Regions from separate parts of the Homo sapiens genome. Here region 1 is linked to region 2. The links are contacts of gene promoters, found by promoter capture Hi-C in blood cells and fetal thymus (Javierre and others, 2016). All regions are on one chromosome and are shown on one strand. The core of a region is centred on a gene start or on the middle of the fragment in contact, and the rest is flanking DNA. Distances in the headings are between cores, read along the strand shown. Region 1 has its middle 9.7 kb from the start of LINC01220. Region 2 holds the start of DLST (dihydrolipoamide S-succinyltransferase).

What was found. Contacts are between HindIII fragments. The CHiCAGO score rates a contact against its expected background, and 5 or more counts as called.
Region 1: a contact is called between a fragment that was not itself captured here and the fragment with the promoter of DLST in region 2, in 2 of 17 cell types (erythroblasts and endothelial precursors). The highest score is 7.7, in erythroblasts.

Annotation. Positions count from the first base shown.
Region 1 is chr14:75,300,918-75,307,331 of GRCh38, reverse strand. No RefSeq gene overlaps it. Among named protein-coding and RNA genes, the nearest start is that of LINC01220, 9.7 kb to the right of the region's middle. RefSeq lists an enhancer at 2,944-3,113. The HindIII fragment of the contact is 1,746 bases long and covers 2,472-4,217 here.
Region 2 is chr14:74,880,577-74,886,787 of GRCh38, reverse strand. DLST (dihydrolipoamide S-succinyltransferase) reads right to left here and starts at 4,872. Exons shown (of 15, transcript NM_001933.5): 1 at 4,772-4,872; 2 at 4,164-4,197; 3 at 1,154-1,202. The coding sequence starts at 4,834. RefSeq lists silencers at 4,528-4,857, 4,714-4,940. The HindIII fragment of the contact is 10,796 bases long and covers 2,215-6,211 here.

The DNA.
Region 1 (6,414 bases), core at 2,095-4,594, 420 kb before region 2:
TCTTTGTATATGCTGGCCATGGAGGGCAGAGAGTAGTTCCTATCTGACAGGGCTGTTCTTTAACTTAAATGATGAGTTTGAAGCACTTGGCACACAGTAAACACTCAGCACATGATACATATTGTTTAACATGTTCAGTGTGGTTACCTGCTTAAAAAACAGATGGTCCTCATAGCATCTAGTGTCATCTTGCACACATCATAAAGAGACAGAACCCTGCCACCGTGTGGAGAGCAGGGCTCACACAGGAGGTATCATGCCCGAGACCCAGGATATGTTTAGGAATACATAAACATGTTTTCATTTCTTTTGAAAATCAGAAGAAAAAAATTAACTTTTACATTGAAAAAAAGTTTTATTTTTTTTGTTTTGTTTTGGAGTAAGAGTCTCCCTCTATCCCCCAGGCTGGAGTGCAGTGGTGTGATGTCCTCGGCTCACTGCAGCCTCCTCCTCCCAAGTTCAAGCGATTCTCATGCCTCAGCCTTCTGAGGAGCTGGGATTATAGGCGCCCGCCACCACGCCCGGCTAATTTTTTGTATTTTTAGTAGAGACAGGGTTTCACCATGTTGGCCAGTCTGGTCTCAAACTCCTGACCTTAGGTGATCCACCCGCCTTGGCATCCCAAAGTGTTGGGATTATAGGCGTGAGCCACCATGCCCAGCCTGAAAAAAAGTTTTAATATATAATATTAATATATTTTTCTTTATACCAATGTAGTCATAAAATATAATTTTATAATTATATTAATTGTTAATCAATATAATTATTAATTAACTTGACTATTATCAAGTGATTTTTGACAAAAGTGCCAAGACCATTCAATGGGGAAAGGACAGTCTTTTCAACAAATGGTGCTGGGAAAACTGGATATCCACGTGTAAATGAAGTTGGACACTTGCCTAACACCATATGCAAAGATTAACTCAAAATGCATCAAAGACCCAAATGTAAGGCCTAAAGCTGTAAAACTCACCGAAGGAAACACAGGAGATAAGCTTCACAACATTAGATTTGGCAATGATTTTTCTGGATATGACACTTTTATTGCATAAGCAATAAAAGAAAAAATAGACAAATTAGACTTCATGAAAATTTTTAAATTTTGTGCAAGAAAAGACACTAGCAACAGAGTGAAAAAGCAACCCACAAGATGAGATAAAACATTTGCAAATCATATAGCTGATAAAGGATTAATATCCAGAATATATAAAGAACTCCTAAAACTCAACAACAAAAAAGCAAACAACCCAGTTCAAAAATGGCCAAAGGACTTGAATAGACATTTCTCCAAAGAAGATATATAAATGGCTAATAAATAAGCACAAAAGATGTTCGACATCACTAGACATTAGGGAAATGGAAATCAAAACTACAGTGAGATACCACCTCACACCCATTAGGATGGCTACTATTAAAAAAAAACACACAAGACCATGCACAGTGGCTCACGCCTGTAATCCCAGCACTTTGGGAGGCCAAGGTGGGTGGATCACCTGAGGTTGGGAGTTCGAGACCAGCCTGACCAACATGGAGAAACCCCATCTCTACTAAAAATACAAGATTAGCTGGGCGTGGTGGTGTATGCCTGCAATCCCAGCTACTCAGGAGGCTGAGGCAGGAGAATTGCTTGAACCCAGGAGGCAGAGGTTGCAGTGAGCTGAGATCACGCCATTGCACTCTAGCCTGGGCAACGAGAGCAAAACTCCGTCTCAAAAACAAAAAACGAAAACACCACACTCACACACACAGGCTAGGTGCAGTAGCTCATGCCTGTAATCCCAACACTTTGCAAGGCTGAGGCAAGAGGATTGCTTGAGCCCAGGAGTTTGAGACCAGCCAAAGCAACATAGTGAGACCCCATCTCTACAAAAAAAAAAATTAAATTACATTACATTAAAATTAGCCAGGTGTGGTGGTCCATGCCTATAGTCCCAGCTACTCGGGAGGCTGAAGTGGGAGCATCGCTTGAGCCCAGGAGATCAAGGCTACAGTGAGCCATGAGCATACCACTGCACTCCAGCCTGGGCAACAGAGCAAGACTCTCTAAAAAAAATACACACACACACACACACACACACACACACACACACAGAGAGAGAGAAAAAATTACAAACTTTGTCAAGGATGTAGAGAAATTGGAACTCTATGCACTGTTGGTGAGAATGTAAAATGGCACAGCTGCTGTGGAAAACAGTGTGGGGGTTTCTTTTAAAATTAAAAATAAAATTACCATATGACCCCAAAATTCTACCCTGCGTATATACCCCCAAAAACTGAAAGCTGATCTCAAAGAGATATTTGTACACCCATGTTCATAGCAGCATTATTCATAATAGCTAAAATGTAGAAGCAACCCAAATGTCCATCAATGATGAATGGATAAGCAAAACGTGGTGTATATGTATAATGGAATATTATTCAGCCTTAAAAAGGAAAGACATTCCAACACATACTGCAGCCTGAATGAAGCTTGAGGCCATTATACTACGTGATACAAGCCAGTCAGAAAAGGATACCCACTGTATGATTCCACTTATATAAAGTCCCTTAAAATCATAGCAACAGAAAGTAAAATGGTGGATGCCAGGGGCTGGGGAGAGGGAAGAATAAGAAATTACTGTTTAATGGGTACAGGGTTTCAGTTTTAGGAGACAGAGTTCTAGAGACAGACAGATGGTGGGATGGTGGTGACAGCTGCACGACATTGTGAATGTATTTAATACCACTGACCTGGACACTTAAAAATGGTTAAGATGGCAAATGTTGTGTGTATTTTACCACCATATATAAAAAATAGGAAGAAAAAAAAAAAAGGAGGCCTGGTCACAGTGGCTCACACCTGTAATCCCAGCACTTTGGGAAGCCGAGGAAGGCAGAGTGTTTAGCCCAGGAGCTGGAGACAAGGTTTTGTACGAAACCATGTCTGTACAAAAAAATACAAAAATTAGGCAGGCATGGTGGCACACACTTATAGTCGCAGCCACCAGGCCCGATCAGAAAATTTATTCTTTTTTTTTTCTTCTTCTTTTTTGAGACAGTGTTGCTTCGTCACCCAGGCTGGAGTGCAATGGCACCATCTCGGCTCACTGCAACCTCCGACTCCCAAGTTCAAGTGGTTCTCCTGCCTCAGCCTCTCGAGTAGCTGGAATTACAGGCACCCGCCACTACACCCGGTTAATTTTTGTATTTTTAGTAGAGACAGGGTTTCACCATGTTGGCCAGGCTGGTCTTGAACTCCTGACCTCGTGATCCGCCCGCCTCGGACTCCCAAAGTGTTGGGATTATAGGCGTAAGCCACGACACCCACCCCAATTTATTCTTAAGAATACACTCTGCAGGCCGGGCGCGGTGGCTCATGCCTGTAATCCCAGCACTTTGGGAGGCAGAGGCGAGTGGGTGGCCTGAGCTCAGGAATTCGAGACCAGTCTGGGCAACATGGCAAAACCCTGTCTCTACAAAAAATAAAATTAAATTAAAATGAAGAATAAATGTACTAATGCTATCGGAATCCGTATGCCCATTTGCTTTTAGAGAAGATCCTATTCCCCAAGAGTGTGATGTGTTTTACAATTCATGCACGGTGTCTTTATCCCCTCGGTCGAAGATTGTCATATCCTTTAGTGGTCAAGAGGGGGCGCAGCGACTCAACCTAAAGCGTGGAAATCCCAGTGGCCTGTAGATCACAGATGCCGAAATGTGAAAGCCTTGGTCCTGGAATTAGCATTATGGACTTCACCTGGGAGATTGTTAGAGACGCAGAATCTCGATCCTACCCCAGATCTGCCTCAGAATTTGCACGTTAAGAAGATCCCCGGTCGAAGGACAGGCACAGAGGCTCAGGTCTGTAATCCCAGCACTTTGGGAGGCCAAGGCGGGTGGATCAGGAATTCCTGCTGGTCAGGAGTTCGACACACAGCCTGGCCAACATGGTGAAACCTCGTCTCTACTAAAAACACAAAAATTAGCCGGACGTGCTGGTGAGTGCCTGTACTCCCAGATACTTGGGAGGCTGAGGCAGGAGAATGGCTTGAACCCGGGAGGCGGAGGTGGCAGTGAGCCGAGATCACGCCACTGCACTCCAGCCTGGGCGACAGAGTGAGACTTGGTCTCAAAATAAAAAATAAAAATAAAAAAAAGAAGATCCCCGGGGTAATTTATAGACACATTAAAATTTGAGAAGTACTGGTTGAAAGTGTCTAGTCATAGAAAGGGAAGCTTCTTCCTCAAAGGAAAAGAGGGTAGGAAAGGAGCTGGCTAAGGCCTCCCTTGAAGCCCCCAAATGTCCTGTTCCTTCGACCAAGCAACCAACATCAATCAAGATGGAATTGGAGCCACAGGAGAGGGTGTAAAAGCATTTCATTGGTCATAAATGCATAGGCTTGGCCGGGCGCAGTGGTTCACGACTGTAATCTCAGCACTTTGGGAGGCCGAGACAGGCAGATCACTTGTGGTCAGAAGTTCGAGACCAGCCTGGGCAACATGGTGAAACCCCATCTCTACGAAAAATACAAAAATTAGCCAGATGTGGTAGCACGCACTTGTAATACCAGCTACTCAGGAGGCTGAGGCAGGAGAATCACTTGAACCAGGGAAGTGGAGGTTGCAGTGAGCCGAGATGGCACCACTGCACTCCAGCCTGGGGGACAAAGCAAGACTCCGTCTCAAAAAAAAAAAAAAAAGGCATAGGCTTTTTCCATTTCAATAAATGCTTATTGATTGCTTACTGTGTGCTGGGCATCAGGGATACAATTGTGAGCAAAAATCAGACCCTGTTCCTGCCCTCATGGAGCTTTCAGCCTAGTGGGGACACCAAGTGTGTGTAATCCCATAATCACACATAACTACAAACCTTGTCCTTGCTCTGCAGGTTCAGAGAGAGGGCCATGACAGAGTAAAGGGAAAGGGAGTGGGGATGAGGGGCTGCTTTATATGGAATGTTCAGAGAAATCCTCAGAAGAAGTCATCTTTTTGTTTTGTTTTGTTTTCAGAGTTGAGGTGTCACTTTGTCATCCAGGCTGGAGTAAAGTGGTGCCATCATGACTCATTGCAGCCTCCACCTCCAAGCCTCAAGCGATCCTCCCACCTCAGCCTCCCAGCTAGCTGGGACCACAGGTATGCACCACCACGCCTGGATAATTTTGTTTATCTTTTGTAGAGATGAGGTCTCACTGTGTTGCCCAGGCTGGTCTTGAACTCCTGAGCTCAAATGACCCTCCTGTCTCGGCCTCCAAAGTGCTGGGATTACAGGCATGAGCCACCAGGCCTGACCAGGAAGTGAGCTTTAAGCTAGAGATCTGAAGGATGTGTGGGAGTTAGCCAGGAAAGAGTAGAGTTCCTGTGCGGGGGGTGGCGGGGGAGGGGACAGAATGTACAAAGGTCACGCAACAGAGAGGAACATGCTTACTCAAGGAACTGAGAGAAGACAGGCATGGAGTGATGCAAGATGAGGCTGAGACAGAGGAGGGCAGGAAGGGGCAGCTCGATGGGGCCAGGGACCAGAGGACACAGGCTCACCCAGACCTGATTGAGGTAGCCCCCCAGTTCCCAAAGTGACTACTGCATGGTTCTGCCTCCCGGGGGCCCTGCACCAAATGGCCCATGTGGACATCTCACCTCTGTCCTTCCAGTTCCCATTCTCTTCCTATCCTCCCCTGCTCTCCCCGCTACTAATCCTTTCTTTACCTCGTCACCATCAGCTCCTCTATTGCTTATCCTCTTCTCGCTTGCCCTCCCCAGCATCTTCCTCATTCACCCTTTTTTTTTTTTTTTAAGGCAAGGTTTCACTCTGTTGCCCCCAGGTTGGAGTACAGTGGCATGATTGTGGCTCACTGCAGCCTCAAACTCCCAGGCTTAGTTGATCCTCCCAAGTAGCTGGGACTACAGGTGCATGCCACCATGCTGAGCTAATTTTTTTTGTATTTTCTGTAAAGATGGGGTTTCACCATGTTGCCTAGGCTGGTCTTGAACTGCTAAACTCAAGCGATCCACCAGCCTCGGTCTCCCAAAGTACTAGAATTACCAGCATGAGCCACTGCACCCAGCCTCATTTACCATCTCCACCTGCTCCCAACTTTTCCAGGAAATCGAACGTCAGTCTCCAAGCCTATCTTCCCCTGAAAAGAAGATAATCTTTAAGTCAGACACAACCAGCATTCATTGAGAGCTCACCATGTGCTGGGCCCGGCATCACTTTCCACATTTTTTTCATTTAACCCTCACAGCAATCTTATCCAATAGCTACTATCATTCCAGTTTTACACTTGAGGAAATCGAAGTGTAGAGACAGTAAGTAGTTTTCTCAAGATTACGCAGCTAGAAACTGGTTGAACCAATACTACCCTCCTGTGTGATAACAGGGACTGCACATTGTCCTGTTTGACAGCGTACTAACTGCACGACTACATTTCGAAAGCC
Region 2 (6,211 bases), core at 3,623-6,122:
CCTGGGTGACAGAGCAAGACTCCATCTTGAAAAAAAGAAAAAAAGAAAAGGTACACACACTTCAAAGACTTATGACTATCAAACTGCCCTCCAAAATAACACCGGGATTCATATTTCTAGTACTGAGTGCAACATTTACTCAAATTTTAAAAAATCAGCCAGGCACCATAGCTCACGCCTGTATCCTCCACTTTGGGAGGCTAAGGCAAGTGGATGGATTGCTTGAGCCCAGGAGTTTGACACCAGCCCAGGTATCATGGCAAAACAACCCCATCTCTACAAAAAATACAAAAAACAACCGGGCATGGTGGCATGTGCCTGTAGTCTCAGCTACTCAGGAGGCTGAGGTGAAAGGATCTCTTGAGCCCAGGAGGCTGAGGATGCAGTGAGCCAAGATCAGGCTACCGCACTCCAGCCAAAGTGGCAGAGCAAGATCCTGTCTCAAAACAACAACAACAAAAACCCTCATTGTGATGTAGAGTAAGTAAGAAGCTCATCCGCTGACCTCTTCACTTTGAGGATTCTCCCTGTAGAGTAAGCAGCCTGACAGCTGCTGAACAGGTTACTAGAGAGCATTCTCTTAGCACCACCACAAAAACACTTGGAATGCAAAGCAGCATTTAAGCAACATTCATACGCAGAAGTTAATCTGAAACACACATGGGTAGCCTTTCTCCAAACTCTGCATTATGCAATAACAGCATTCCCTCCAAACTAGTCAGTCAGTCCCAGGACTCAACCAGTTTTATGCTTTTACTGTTTTTAAAAATGAGTAACTATGCTACTGAGAGGATGCTCTCAATCTCCACAATAAATGTAACCTCGAGCCTTTCAGCTGCACTTACATCCAAACAGAATATCTAGGAGCACCCTTCTATATCCCATAAAAAGAGGATTCCAACTTAACTTTCATTATAATCCAAACACCTGTGGAGAGTGGGCACACTCCCAGTCCAAAACCTGACACGGAGCTGATGCTCAAGGAACATCACATGGGAAAAGTGAACATTGAGGTTAGTCTAGGGACTCAACATAATCACCTCAATTTCTAGGTCTGGAGGCCAGTGAAGAAATCAGATGGTCAAATTTAGAACTTTATGTCTTTAAATAAATAACCCGTGGCCACATATCTGTACTCCCCAGTGATACTTACACAACCTTCCTGCTGTTAGGGTAACCTGGTCCCTGGCATAAGGAGACCCCTGCAAGAAACAAAATAACTCTTAACCAACAACTCTTATCTCACAAAGGATACATGCTGGGAATGGAAAAGGTCTGCTCACCCCCAACCCTGAGACAGAGCAGGATCAACGGCAACGGATATAATCTTTATCATAGAGTCCTGCTTCTCAAACTTTTCCAAAGTAGCCTTAGTGGCAGAGAGCAAATGGGTATGTGAGATCGAGTGGGTATGTGTTTGGCTGGGGAGGAAAGAGAAAAAATTTGATGGCACAGCCCAAAGTGATTATATAATCTCATCTACCTTAAAAAGCCAGAACTTTTCATTATTCCTGTATGTTTTCATAATAAAATGTCTCTACTCGCCAAGTCTTCAAATACAACTGAAGCTTGAGAAAGACATGGGATGGCTTATCCTGTGACTATACATAACCCAATTTGAGAAGCAAGGAGGATGTTTGGTCTGGGTTTGAAAAGATTGGGTTGGAAATCTTATCACCTGAATCCTAGTAGCAAAGACTTGGCTACTTTAGGCTCGGGGTCTCCAGTTTGTCCTAGAGCTGAGAAAATCATGTCCCCATCTTTCAGTTTATTGACTTCCCATGCCTTTCTGAAGTCTTCCACCCTGGTCACTCTCAACAAGGTGAGAGACCCTTTCTGCCCACCAGCTGTCCTTATCATAGTTAACTGCATTTCCCCAACTGATGACTAGTAACTACAGCTGCCTCTTCTGAATTCTTTCTTATGTCTTTTTTCTTTCAGATTAACAACTCTTTCTGAACCATGGGCTCAGGACACACCAAATGAGAGCTAGCCCTCTCTTATGCCCACCTCCTCACAAGCATCCCAAGATAGGTAAGCCAGTCACCTTTATGTCCAGCAGCCAATGACTATGCAGTGCAAATTCTAAGCATAGTATGTTTTTGAACTAGAATAGATGGCGGCTCACACTGATTTTGGGAACCTGGAGTCCAATTCAGAGTTCATCCTACAGCAAATTTCATTTGTACAGTGCTTTAGGGTTTATAAAAAGCTTTCCCATAATGACCTCATTTTGATTTTACAGTCTCACAACTCTCTGAAGTGGAACGACCATCTGCCATTATTCCCATTTCATATAAGTAGGACTTTTGGAGGTTAAGCGACTAGCCCAAGGTGAATCCCTGAGCCCAAATGCAAATCCCCAAGTGCAAGGCTCTTTCCATTGTCCTGCCCACCTATGAAGTGGAGAAAATGTTTACTGACATTGTTCAGGGTTCCCACTTGAAAAACATGTTTGTTATTGAGAGTCCACTACAAGCCGACATTGTGCTAGGGGCTTTATGTTCTCATAACTCTCAGGATAAAGTCCACACTTTACGCGATCCTGTACCGTCCAGCCCACTCTATCTTTCCTGCCAGACAGGCTTCTTCCCATGTCTATCACTGGTCAAGTCCTTTCCTGTCTGAAAACCTTTGCACAAGCAATTCCCTTTGCCTGGAATACATTTTCTTGGCTCTTTTATATTCAGGTCTCAGTTAAATGTCACTTCTTCAGGGAAGCCTTTACTGACATTCCCAACCTTCCCAAGCTGGTCTACATCATCCCACCCTCTCATCACACCCTTTAATTCCTCTCTCGTAGTAACCAAAATTTATGCCCTTGTCGGAGCATAAATGTATATTTGCTCTCTCTCTCCAGCTAGCCCATAAAATCTCGAGGCTAGAGTCTATCTATACCCCTGTTACCTAGAACAGTGGCTGGCATATAGTAAGCACTCAATAAATGATCTGTTGAGTCCATGAGTAAATGAGAACATGGTGGGTTAAGAGTTCAGGATGGGTCAGGTAGACCTGGCTTATCAACAGCTGGGTGGGTGACCATGGCCAAGGCTTTTAAGCTCTCTTGTCTTGGGTTATGCATTTGTAAAATAGAGAAAATACTTTTTACTGTTTTGAGATGATTAACTAAAAAATTCACAGAAAGCACTCATATAAATGCTTGGCACAAAGAAAGCCCACAACAAGGTCAACTCATTCAACAAATACTTAGGCTAGGCATATAACAGAAAAAAAGCTATGGATGACACTTTTTTCTTTTTAACTGCTAGGATAAAATCTAAACTCCTTCAGTCTCTATACCATCTTCTATCTCTTGCCACTCTCTCCCTTAACCAAAATACTCCGGCCAAATCACCTTTTTTCCAGCTCTTAAGTTCTGCCAACCTCTTTTCTTCCTCAGGGTCTTTGTGAATGCCATTCTCTTTCTCCTGGGCTTCACTGGGTTAGCTCCGTCACATTCTGCTAGCCATAACTTTTTTTTTTTTTTTTTTTTGAGATGGAGTCTCGCTCTGTCGCCCAGGCTGGAGTGCAGTGGCGCGAACTCGGCTCACTGCAAGCTCCGCCTCCCGGCTTCACGCCATTCTCGTGCCTCAGCCTCCCGAGGAGCTGGGACTACAGGCGCCTGCCACCACGCCCGGCTAATTTTTTGTATTTTTTAGTAGAGATGGGGTTTCACCGTGTTAACCAGGATGGTCTCGATCTCCTGACCTCGTGATCCGCCCGCCTCAGCCTCCCAGAGTGCTGGGATTACAGGCGTCAGCCACCGCGCCCGGCCATGGCCATAACTTTTAAGTCACCTCCTCAAAAAGGGCTCTTCTGTCCACCCTCGTTTCCTTCTCAGCAGTTACAAAAATTTGCCTTTGTTGGCTTGTTTAGCAACTGACACTATCCAACTAGCCTAGGAGCTCCACGAGGGCAAGAACTGTACACTTCTGTATCCACTCCTGTATCCCTAGCGTCTAGCACAGTGCCTAACACAGTAGAAACTCAACTACGAGCTAAATGAATAAGCGATAGCTCGTGATTATGTAGCATTGCGTCTCACTACTCTCTGAACCAAACTGTCTTTAAATATTATGAGAAACACAGGCACCCCCGAGTTCCTCACATACTGCTCTGCCCAGGAGGAGAGCATTTTAGGTGACGGTAAGGGCAGAACTTACCAGGCAGGGAACGTCTCCCTAGAGGGCAGTTCCCCTGTTGAGAAAGAAGACATTATCGACGTCACCCAAGATGAAAAAAAAACCCAGCTTTTTCTTTTAAGTACACGCTCAAAGCTGTCCCAGTGGTGGTGACAGGTGAATCTCGTAACTCCGAAGGTAAATGCAACACACCGTGCTGGCAGACCCAATCAACACGCTGGGCCTGCCAAACTATCTCAACTTCCCAACGGGACTCATTAATACCCACTGATTTTAACAGAGCAAGACGAGACGGGCGCCGAATCCCGCCGGAGGACTCCGCCGCGCCTCCTCCCTAACTCTGAGTCAAGTATCTGGACGGGCGCGGCTCCCCAGCTCCCGCGCGGAGGGTGGGGTACAGCAGGAAACGTTCCCCGCAGGCTGCCTGGAGAAGGCAGGGGGCCGCTGGGCTCCGCAAAACGGTCCCGAGGGCAACCACGGCCCCGGGCCGCCCAGCCCGCGCGGCCTCCGCGTCCCAGTGCCCTTGGTGCCCGGCCCGGCCGGCGCGCCGCGCCCCTGCCTTCCAGGCCGCCTCTCTGCCCGCCAACAGACTCCTCACCCGTCGGGGCCCCGGCTCGGCCAGACCGTACCTTCTGGAAGGCGGAGAGCGAGCGGCTGAACGCCCGAGACACACAGCGGGATCGGGACAGCATCACGGCGGAGGAGCCGAGGGCGGGCGGACACCGGATATAGGGCCGGACAACAACCGGAAGTGGGGCGGGCCGCAGTACCCGCCGCCCGACGAGGGGTGTTCGGAGCGAACCACTGGCAGGGGGTGGGCGCACGGCGGCGCCCAGTATCCCGGCTGCAGCGCAGGAGTCCCGCTCTCTGGAGCAGGCAACCCTAAGGCGCTCTTGGGGCCCTCCGCACTGCCTGTCAGCCTGAGGTGGTTCTCCTGAAGGTGTATACGACTGTCCCGCCACCACATTGCCCCCGGGGTCAGGCCTTCCCCTACCCTTCCACAGAACTGGCTCTGAGCTTGGCGCCCTTCTCTCTTGGGACCCGAGGGCACCGCGCCGTTCCGCCTCTGTACCTTGGGAAGAGAGCAAAAGAGGGGCACGGACATTGAACTGAAACCTTGGCAGACATGCATGCCTGATCTTACACTTGTGTGGCCTGGGGCAGATGACATTGCCCCCCACCCCCAGTCTCAGGTCCCTTAACTATTAAAAAAAAAAAAAAAGGCACTTGTTACTTCCCTGTCTTCCTAACCCCGAGTCAAAGAAACAGAATCCCAGGAATTTCTAAATCCCATTGCCTTTTTACGAGTCGGATATCTTCACCAACTATAGCCTTATTTCTCAACAGCTTCTGATCTCCCCCCAACGCAAATTCCAGCCAAACTAATTGTTCCCCATACATCTTGTGCATTTTGGAAGTTGTTCGTTTGTCACCCTATCCCTAGAATATAAACTCCCAGCTGTTTTTTTAAGAAACAAGGTCATAGTTCACTGGAGCCTCGACACTCTGGGCTCAAGCGATCCCTCTGCCTCAGCCTCTGGAGTAGCTGGGACTACAGGTGCCACCATGCCAGGCTGACCTCCCCACTTTGAGTGTGCCATTCTTCCCGCTGACTTGAAGTGAAAGCATATAGCATCCCCTTCCCCTCCTTAAGTATTCAGGCCCCTTGAGTATTCACCTTTAAGGCTCACCTTCCTAATGAAAAAGATGTGCTTTAAACCTCTGGCTGAATTAGTAACACATAAATGTATGAATGAATGAATGAACCACTTGGTGCCGTTCATGATGATTTCTTTATCTGAGGCATTTTGCCTGGCCCTCAGGACCTTTATTTTTTATTTTTCTAATTAATTTATGTTTTAATATAAATTGAGACGGGGTCTCACTATGTTGCCCAGGCTGGCCTCAAATTCCATCAGGACCTTTACAGTGCCTTCACTCACCTGAACCCTGAAAGCACTGCCACTGAAATTCTGGAAGGATGGGCCAAAGTCCTAACTAGAAATAGAGAAAACAGCTCTGCCCTGCTGCTACCCACAATTAACTCCTCAGTAGCTTTCACCTGAATT